Regions from separate parts of the Homo sapiens genome. Here region 1 is linked to region 2. Evidence: promoter capture Hi-C in human tissues and cell types (Jung and others, 2019). All regions are on one chromosome and are shown on one strand. The core of a region is centred on a gene start or on the middle of the fragment in contact, and the rest is flanking DNA. Distances in the headings are between cores, read along the strand shown.

Region 1 (4,443 bases), core at 1,062-3,561, 38 kb before region 2:
CCAGCATCCAAATCTAAATTGATCCTTTACTCATTCTAGTTAGTGTTACTTTTTATTAAGGGTTTTATTTTATTTTTGAAATAGAGTCTCACTCTGTTGCCCAGGCTGGAGTGCAATGGTGCAATCATAGCTCACTGCAGCCTTGAACTCCTGCGCTCAAACAATCCTCCTGTCTCAGCCTCCCAAGTAACTGGGACCATAGGCATGTGCCACCATGCCAGCTAATTTTTTTTTGTTTTTGGTAGAGACAAGGTCTCACTATGTTGCCTAGGCTGGTCTTGAACTCCTGAGCTCAAGTTATCCTCCCACCTTGGCTTTCCAAAGTGCTAGGATTATAGGCATGAGCCACCAACCACACCCAGCCTCTTACTTTAACTTTTCAGTTTTATCTTTCTACATTATTTGGAAGGAATTATACAGTGAAATATATAAATGTGGGGGCTAACAACCCTTAAAATTATCAAGATCTGATACATTTGCTAGTCTTAGAATTTAGCTCTGCTCTTCTCTTTCATTTAGATATTTTATGTTCAATCCATTTTTAACCTGTAGCCAAGGTATTATTTTTACCTTTTTTATTCAGTTTTAAAAATTTTTCAATGGCTTCAAACTCAGTCCTGAAAGGGTCTAAAATTTAGGGATGTATCCTAAAATCCAGATTGTTGTTTAGGAGTAGTGCACCTGCTCATGTTGTAAATAAATGATTTTGTTTCTCCCACTGTGAGTCCTGGCTGAGGTAACCCTCTCTATGAAGGTTAAGCTTCCAGGGAAGTCCAATAGTCCAGACAGTGGCAAAGTTAAAGCCCTGCTCACAGTACACTATAGACCTGGGCCCTGCAAGCTGCAGTGGTAACTCCTCTCCCGCAAGAGGCTATGGAGGTGTGCAATATTCCAGAACCATCTGGTCTCACTGAGCCCTAAGCAGCTTCAGTGGCCTCACTACCAGCCATGATCTAAGGCCTCCCAGTTTCATCAGGGCTCATATCCAAAATACATGATAATGTGGCCAGGCATGATGGCTCATGCCTATAATCCCAGCACTGAGGCAGGCAGATCACTTGAGGCCAGGAGTTCGAGACCAGCCTGGCCAACATGGTGAAACCCCGTCTCTACTAAAAATACAAAAATTAAATGGGCCTGGTGGTGCATGTCTGTAATCCCAGCTACTCAGGAGGCTGAGGCAGGAGAGTCGTTTGAACCCAAGAGGTGATGGTTGCAGTGAATGGAGATCACACCACTGCACTCTAGCCTGGGTGACAGAGCTAAACTCCGTCTCAAAAAAAAAATGATAATGTATTTTCTGCCACTTTTAAGGAGACATGTTTTGAGGCATTACTTTGATATCTGATTTAGAACAAATATAAACAAAATACTAAACATCTGCAGTACAATTTAACTGCAAGAGAATTTACCACAACCAACATCCCACTAAGTTAACTACACCGATTCTCAACAAAATAATACTCGCAATGACCCCAGTCACACTCTCACCTCTGTCAAGGATTCCAGCAATCAGAACTTGGAAGCCTGTAGTAGTTAATGCATTGCTTTTTAGGCCATGGAGACCATCTATGGTTAGCGACTTACATAGTTGTATTGGACCCAAACCTTGTACATCAACTAAGAATGGTGCACCTCCTCCGTCCCCTCTCTCTCTCCTCCATTTAAGCCAAGTCGCCCCTGCATTTTTGGGCTTGGGAGTAGTACTGCATCTCAGAGTATGCAATCTGGTTTCCTGAGTGGTCACCGACAAGCTGGATTTTTGCAACCCACAGTATGGAAGGGTTAGTGACTCACAGGTTAAACAATGAGCAGTGGGAAATGGGAAGTGGATGGAAACCAGGCCAGGAAATGCTCTTCATTTATCCCCCCTGCAGATCTCTCCAAGGTATCTTTGCAAACCTTCCAGAGAAGTCCATGAGCCCAGAGAACATGAGTGGCCTCTGTGAGCCTTACAGTTTGCTGCAAAGCAGTGGCGAGGTCTTGAAGCCTCATGTTACTTTGCATCCTCCCCTTGCTTTCCTTCCTCTTTTGCCTCCCCAGCACCAAGGCTCATCTCGCGGCTCCACTGAGTGCCCGATCTACCAGCAGTAGAAACCAACACGGAACCCTCCTTGATATGGCCCATCCTTGGGAAGAGCCAGACAGCCACTAACTATATCAGACCCCTTCCACCTTGGAGGGATACACAATTTATCCTTCATGAAACGGAAGTGCTTTTTGGTAATGAGGTTGCCTTCCCTGCCTGTAGTGCCTCCAGCAGCACCATGGTCCAAAGTTACTGAATGCCTCGTGTGCTGGCCTGGACTTCCATTCGATACAGCCTTATACAAAGTGGCCCATTTCAGCCTAGCAGCTGTGCCAGTGACTCCTGGCCATAAATTCACTGGAATCACAGGAACCCAGCTGCACTAGGGGGCAGCGAGCCTGACAAAACAATGGAATGGCCTACTGGCTTAGCGGGGACACCGAGGGAGAAATACCCCTCAGGTTTGAGCCTCTGTCCTCCAGGATGCCTTGAGCTGACAACTGATATCTGGTGCCATGTCCCCCACAGCTACAGCAGACAGGTCCAGGAGTGGCCCTGCTCACCATCACGCATGGTTGCCCTTTGCAAGGTGTGTGCTTCCCATCCTCACACACTTGGGATCAGCTGGGTTAGAGGATCTAGTCCTGGGGTAAGGGAGGAATGTGAAACAAAGATTCCACTGATCTGGACACTGCCACAACCACTTGGCCACCTACGGCTCCTCATGCCAGTGACCAACAAAGAGGGGAGTGACTCTACTGCCAGGGGAGTGACTCTACTGCCAGGGGAGTGACTCTACCGCCAGGGGTCACTGATCCTAATTGCCATGAGGAATTAGGTGAGTGGCCCATTTGGAAATGGGAGGAGAATGTCTGGAATAAAACCCAGAGGACTCCTTGGGATATCTCTTATTTTTATTTATTTATTTATTTTTTGAGACAGAGTTTCACTCTTGTTGCCCAGGCTGGAGTGCAATGGCGCTATCTCGGCTTTCTGCAACCTCCGCCTCCCAGGTTCAAGTGATTCTCCTGTCTCAGCCTCCCGAGTAGCTGGGACTATAGGCACCCGTCACCACGCCCAGCTAATTTTTGTATTTTTAGTAGAGATGGGGTTTCACCATGTTAGTGAGGCTGGTCTTGAACCCCTGACCTCAGGTGATCTTTCCACCTTGGCCTCCCAAAGTGCTGGGATTACAGGCATGAGCCACTGTGCCTAGCACCGGTATCTCTTAACATTTCCATGATTGGTAACGGCTGATAATGAGCAAGGCCAACAACACATGCAGACCACTCAGCGCAAACATCACAGACCAGCCAGAGTGCTGGCGGAGAGTGGAGAGGGTCTAGGGTGGGTAGTGCAGGAGGGAAATGATGAGTAACAATGAGCACACCAGGACCGGCCACAGCAGCAGCAGATGACCTTGTTTCACAACCTTCTTGCTTTATTCTTCCTGGTAACCCCAGTGGGCCAGCACCAGGAAATGGCTTCTGTCACTGATGGGATTTGTACCTTCCTGCTCAGGGAAGGAATGAGGATGTTTTTGTTCTCCAAGGAAAACGGAGATTCCCACATTGAAGTAGGAGAGCTGATATCATGGGAGGGCACGAGCAGACCTGAGTAGCGCAAGGTGTGGACTGTATTGGACACAAACCTTGTGCGCCTTCTCAGATTCCCTCGACCACCTCCTTCTTTGTCTCTCTCGATGATGCCTCATCCAGGTCACGCCGTACCTCCACTTCTGGGCTTGTATGAAATGCCACCGTGGAAAATAGGATATGAAAAGAACAGGTCAGATGAATCTCCCCCCACTCTTCCCTCCACGGATGGCTCTGAGGTGTATTTTCTTCTTGTGTAAGTTCTGGAAAAGTCCATGTGCCAGGCAAGCATGCTTGCTGAGCGACCCACCGTGTCTCTGTAGCTCGCTGTGAAGTCTCATCCAGCAAGGGAATGAGCTGGGTGGTCACTTTGATCTCTCCTCTGCCACTTGCCATTGCTCCTTCACTGCCCTGGGATTGCACCTCCCAAAGTGTCAGCTCTTTATTTTTCATTTATTTATTTATTTATTTGAGATGGAGTCTCACTCTGCCGCCCAGGCTGGAGTGCAGTGGCGCGATCTCGGCTCACTGCAACCTCCACCTCCTGGGTTCAAGCGATTCTCCTCCCTCAGCCTCCCGAGTAGCTGGGACTATAGGCGCCCGCCACCACGCCTGGCTAATTTTTTGCATCTTTAGTAAAGACAGGGTTTCACAGTGTTAGTCAGGATGGTCTCGATCTCCTGACCTCGTGATCCACCTGCCTCGGCCACCCAAAGTGCTGGGATTACAGGCGTGAGGCACCGCGCCCGGCCAGCATTAGCTCTTTAATCCCTGCCTTGGGCTATGTTTTCCAGAAGCCCTTCCCCAAAAATGTCCATG
Region 2 (4,145 bases), core at 987-3,486:
CAAAGGTGAGTGGGTATCAGGACACATTTGGGACAGGTCCAGATGTTGGTGTTCAGAATCCCTCTCTACCGTCTACTGGGCCAGTGCCTTTGGATAATGGGCTCTGTGTCTCCCCATCAAACCTCAGAACTCCTCATTTGTAAGACAGGAGAGGCCGGTGTGGTGGCTCATGCCTGTAATCCTAACACTTTGGGAGGCCGAGGCAGGCGAATCACCTGAGGTCAGGAGTTCGAAACCAGCCTGGGCAACATGGTGAAACCCCATCTCTACTAAAAATACAAAAAAAAAATTAGCCGGGCATGGTGACGGGCGCCTGTAATCCCAACTACTCAGGAGGCTGAGGCAGAAGAATTGCTTGAACCTGGGGGGCGGAGGTTGCAGTGAGCCAAGATTGCACCACTGCACTCCAGCCTGGGCGACAGAGCAATACTCCGTCTCAAAAACAAAAACAACAAAAAACAAAACCCTGTAGTGGGTGACTTGAAGGGATACTGTTGGCTGAATGAAGTGAGTGAAGTGACCTGAATTTCAGCAACAGCAAGTCAAGGTCCTTTTGTGTGCAGCAATGAAACAGTGCTTCTCAGAGTGTGGTCCTGGACCAGCATCACCAGCCACGCCTGGGAAGTTATTAGAAAATCCGAATCTCAGGCCCTTCCCCTAGGCCCACTGTAACAGAAATTCATTGGGGAGGCCCAGCACTTTGTGTTCCAACAAGCTCTTCAGGGAATGCTGATGCACACTCAGGTTTGAGAACCACTGGCATAGACTGATCTGAGTTCTCAAGGCTTAAACCAACCATCCCCAGGAAGCAGACCCAGGGAAGAGCCAGTAAGAAAGCAAAGGGAGGCTTCAGTAACCTCCTTTCAACCAGTTTCAGTGGGAAGACAGTGTTAGCTCTCTCACCACTGGACTTTAATTTTGAATCCCGTGCTGGGTCTGGAATAAGAAAGGAGGGCAGCAAAACACTTCCTAGCTCTCCGCAAAATGCCAAGATGGACTCCTGAAGGCCAAGAACCGTGTCCAATACATCTGTGAGTCTGTGGTGCCCAGCCCAAGGCCTGGCAACCAGAGGCATCAGGAAAGGTGGGAGTAACTGCCCCAGGCGGGAAGAATAAGCAGCCCTTCCTAAGAGTGTGGGTCCTAAGGACTGAACAAGGTGACTCTCTCCCTCAATCCCAAACACACAATGATGTTAGCTCCCGAACCAGAAAGGGCAAGGACTTTGAGGGGCTGACTCTAGCTAGCTGCCCCAAGCCCCACAACTGCCAAGCAGAAGGGAACTGAGGCCCCAGATCACTCCCTTACTCCACCTCCCCACTTGCCCAAAAACCCAAGCTTGCCAGAGGTCATGTCCGCAGATCACATTCACCCTTGCCAGAGGTCAGGGCCCCCGGCCCTTGGCGGCGGGCCAGAAGCGTGACTTGGCCTGCTGGAATGCATGCCCCTAAACATCTCTAGACTAGTGGCAGTGTCCGCCAACCATGGAGGCCCTCCATCACCATCCCTGCAGCATCACCACCCTCCAACCCCCATGTCCCACCCTGGCGCTTCCATACCTGTAGTAAGAGAGCAAACCATTGCCCAGCACGAACCAGCGGCGCTGGTAGCCCTTCAGATAGTTGGTCCACTTGAGAAGCCAGCCCTCGAAGCTGTCCAGAGGCAGTAAGGCCAGTGGGGCACTGGAGGTCGTGCCAGTCCCCGACATTGGAACCCCAAGAGGAGTCTTCGCCTGTCCTGGTCGCAGAAGAGGCAGGGGCTTTAACGCTGGCAGCGATCCTGACTCGGGTCTGAGAAAGGTCGCGCTCCCCACCGCCCGGGAGAGCGGCTCCGATGCGGCCTTAGTGAAGGGCCCAGCCCCTACACCTGAGCTTGACTCTGACCCCGGCCGCGACCCCTGCAGCAGTTCCGATGGCTGCCCAGCCCCTGGCTCCGGCTCAGACGTCGTCTCGGACACAGGTTCCGATCTTGGCACTGCCTCCGAAACTGCCTCCGACACCTGTTCTGACAGCGGTCCCCGCTCCGGTTCGGGCACGGGCTGGGGCTGGGGCTTGGGCTCCGGCCCGGAGCCGGACGTGGAAGCGCTCATGCCCGGCGCCGCCGTGTGGCACGACAGGCAGGGGACAACCGTGAACAGCGACGAGAGCCCGCGGGAGCGGCCGCCACAGCCGCCGCCTCGGCTCGGAGCCGCCGCTTTCCCCATAGAGCCGGCCGACCCGCGCGCGGCCGAGCGGCCAGTGGGGGCGGGGGGCAGGCCGGGGGCGGGGCCGGGGGCGCAGTCACGTGCGCGCGGCGCGAGGCGGGGGCGCGCGCGGGTTCCTCCGCGGTCCCGTGCGCTCCGTGCCCGTCAGCGCCCGCCGGCTGTTGTGCTCTCGGCCAGCCTCGGGCCATGTTTGGACCCTGGGTCCTTCCTAGGTCCGGCCGGTGGAAGGAGCTCTGACAACACCTGTGGGCGGAAGAGCTTGGTGGTCGGTCAACTCCGAAGGGGATGGCGCGCTTCAGGCCACGGTCTCTGCTTCGGCCCAGCCGTGCCAGGCGCTGGAGGAACAATGATGAATGCGGAGCCCGCCAGCTCCCAGCGCAGCTCTGCCCACGGGACCCTGCGCCGACGCCCCCTCCCCCAACCCAGGCTGGGGTGGGTTCGCTCTCCGCCACCCAGGAAAGCCGGGTGGGAAGCAGGTACGGCACCCAGAGGCCACGAAATGCGCACGAAGCACAGGGGCGCTAAAGGCTAAAGACGACGCCCCGCCCCCCATGGCAGCCATTACCTGTCTGTGGGTCGCTCCTGCGGCCGCCAGAAGCGGTGGCCCCAAGTGGCCGCCTCACCGCCTCCACCTCCTGAGCCAGCTGGCCTACGGTTCATGCCAAGGCGCTTCGCTGCCAGTGACGACATCGTTCGGGTTCTCTAAACAAATAGGGGAAGACTTTTTGTAAACCAAGCGTTTTAGTACAAGAAACATCTCAAAGTGGGATTCTGAACTTGGACCTCCCGGGATCCCTGGGTAGGCTGGCAGTCTGTGAGGCTTCCGCAGAGGTTTACCTGTCTGTGCATTTTTCCAGAGTAGGTCCATAACAAAGGAGGCTGTGACCCCAGAATGGTTAAAACATCAGCGAATTTTTTTTTCCGCTTTTTTTTTTTTTCCTTTTTGAGACTGAGTCTCACTCGGTAGCCCAGGCTGGAATGCAGTGGCGTGATCTTGGTTCACTGCAGCCTCCGCTTCCCAGGTTCAAGCGATTCTCCTGCCTTGGCCTCCCTAGTAGCTGGAATTCCACGGCCCGCACCATGCCCAGCTAAATTTTGTATTTTTAGTAGAAACGGGGTTTCACCATGTTGGTCAGGCTGGTCTTGAACTCCTGACCTCAGGCCAGGATCCTCCCGCCTCGGCCTCCCAAAGTGCTAGGATTACAGGCGTGAGCCACTGTGCCCAGCCATCAGTGATTTTTTTTTTTTCTTAAGAATCTATCCAAATGACGAAAGTTGATGGTTACTACAAATAATCAGAAATACAAATGGAAAGACTGAACATTGGGTTTCTGTCCAGACTTTTCAAGCTTAGACCTCTCTGCAGACTCCTCTTAGCTCACCATCACGTCTTACTCTCCCCTTACCCACCTATCCATTCCTGATCTTTGCTTGTGACAAGATAACCTGTGTAGGGACTGCTTCCTACGTGAAGTGGTCCCCAGAAGGAAGCAGATTGGAAGGTCCTAGAAATAGGAGGTGCAGACATGCACTGAGCAGGAGCCGCTGGCATCTTTGCTGGTGACTTTGAGACCCCTTCCTCAGGCACTTGTCTTTGAATGGTGGTCTTACCTGCAATTTTGCTGTGAGCTCTGGAGTGCAGAGAGCCCCCCATCTTGGTCTATCTCATATGTATGACGGTGACCCTCAAACTTCAGCATGGTGAGTCCCCCCAAGGAAAAGTGATTGCCTCTGGGGTGTAGTGGGGGACAGAACTGGACAACTGAGAAATGAGGTGGAATGCTTGCTTTTCACTCACACTTTGAACCTTTTGTATGTTTTACTGTGTATGTTTCACTGTGTGTATGTTTCACCGATTCAAAATAATGATGATAATTGTTAAAATCACCCCAGGGAGGTTTATTAGAAACACACTTTTCCAGAGCTGGGCACGGTGGCTCATGCC

What was found. Contacts are between HindIII fragments. The study calls those that stand out against the background at their distance.
Region 1: a fragment that was not itself captured here is called in contact with the fragment with the promoter of OSBP2 in region 2 in 1 of the 25 tissues and cell types used here (pancreas).

Annotation. Positions count from the first base shown.
Region 1 is chr22:30,730,826-30,735,268 of GRCh38, reverse strand. All of the region lies in intron 1 of OSBP2 (oxysterol binding protein 2), which reads right to left. MIR3200 (microRNA 3200) reads right to left here and starts at 3,712; the gene lies at 3,628-3,712. The HindIII fragment of the contact is 9,479 bases long and covers 1-4,443 here.
Region 2 is chr22:30,692,965-30,697,109 of GRCh38, reverse strand. OSBP2 (oxysterol binding protein 2) reads right to left here and starts at 2,236. Exons shown (of 14, transcript NM_030758.4): 1 at 1,557-2,236. The coding sequence starts at 2,200. RefSeq lists silencers at 2,050-2,099, 2,484-2,563. The HindIII fragment of the contact is 4,458 bases long and covers 54-4,145 here.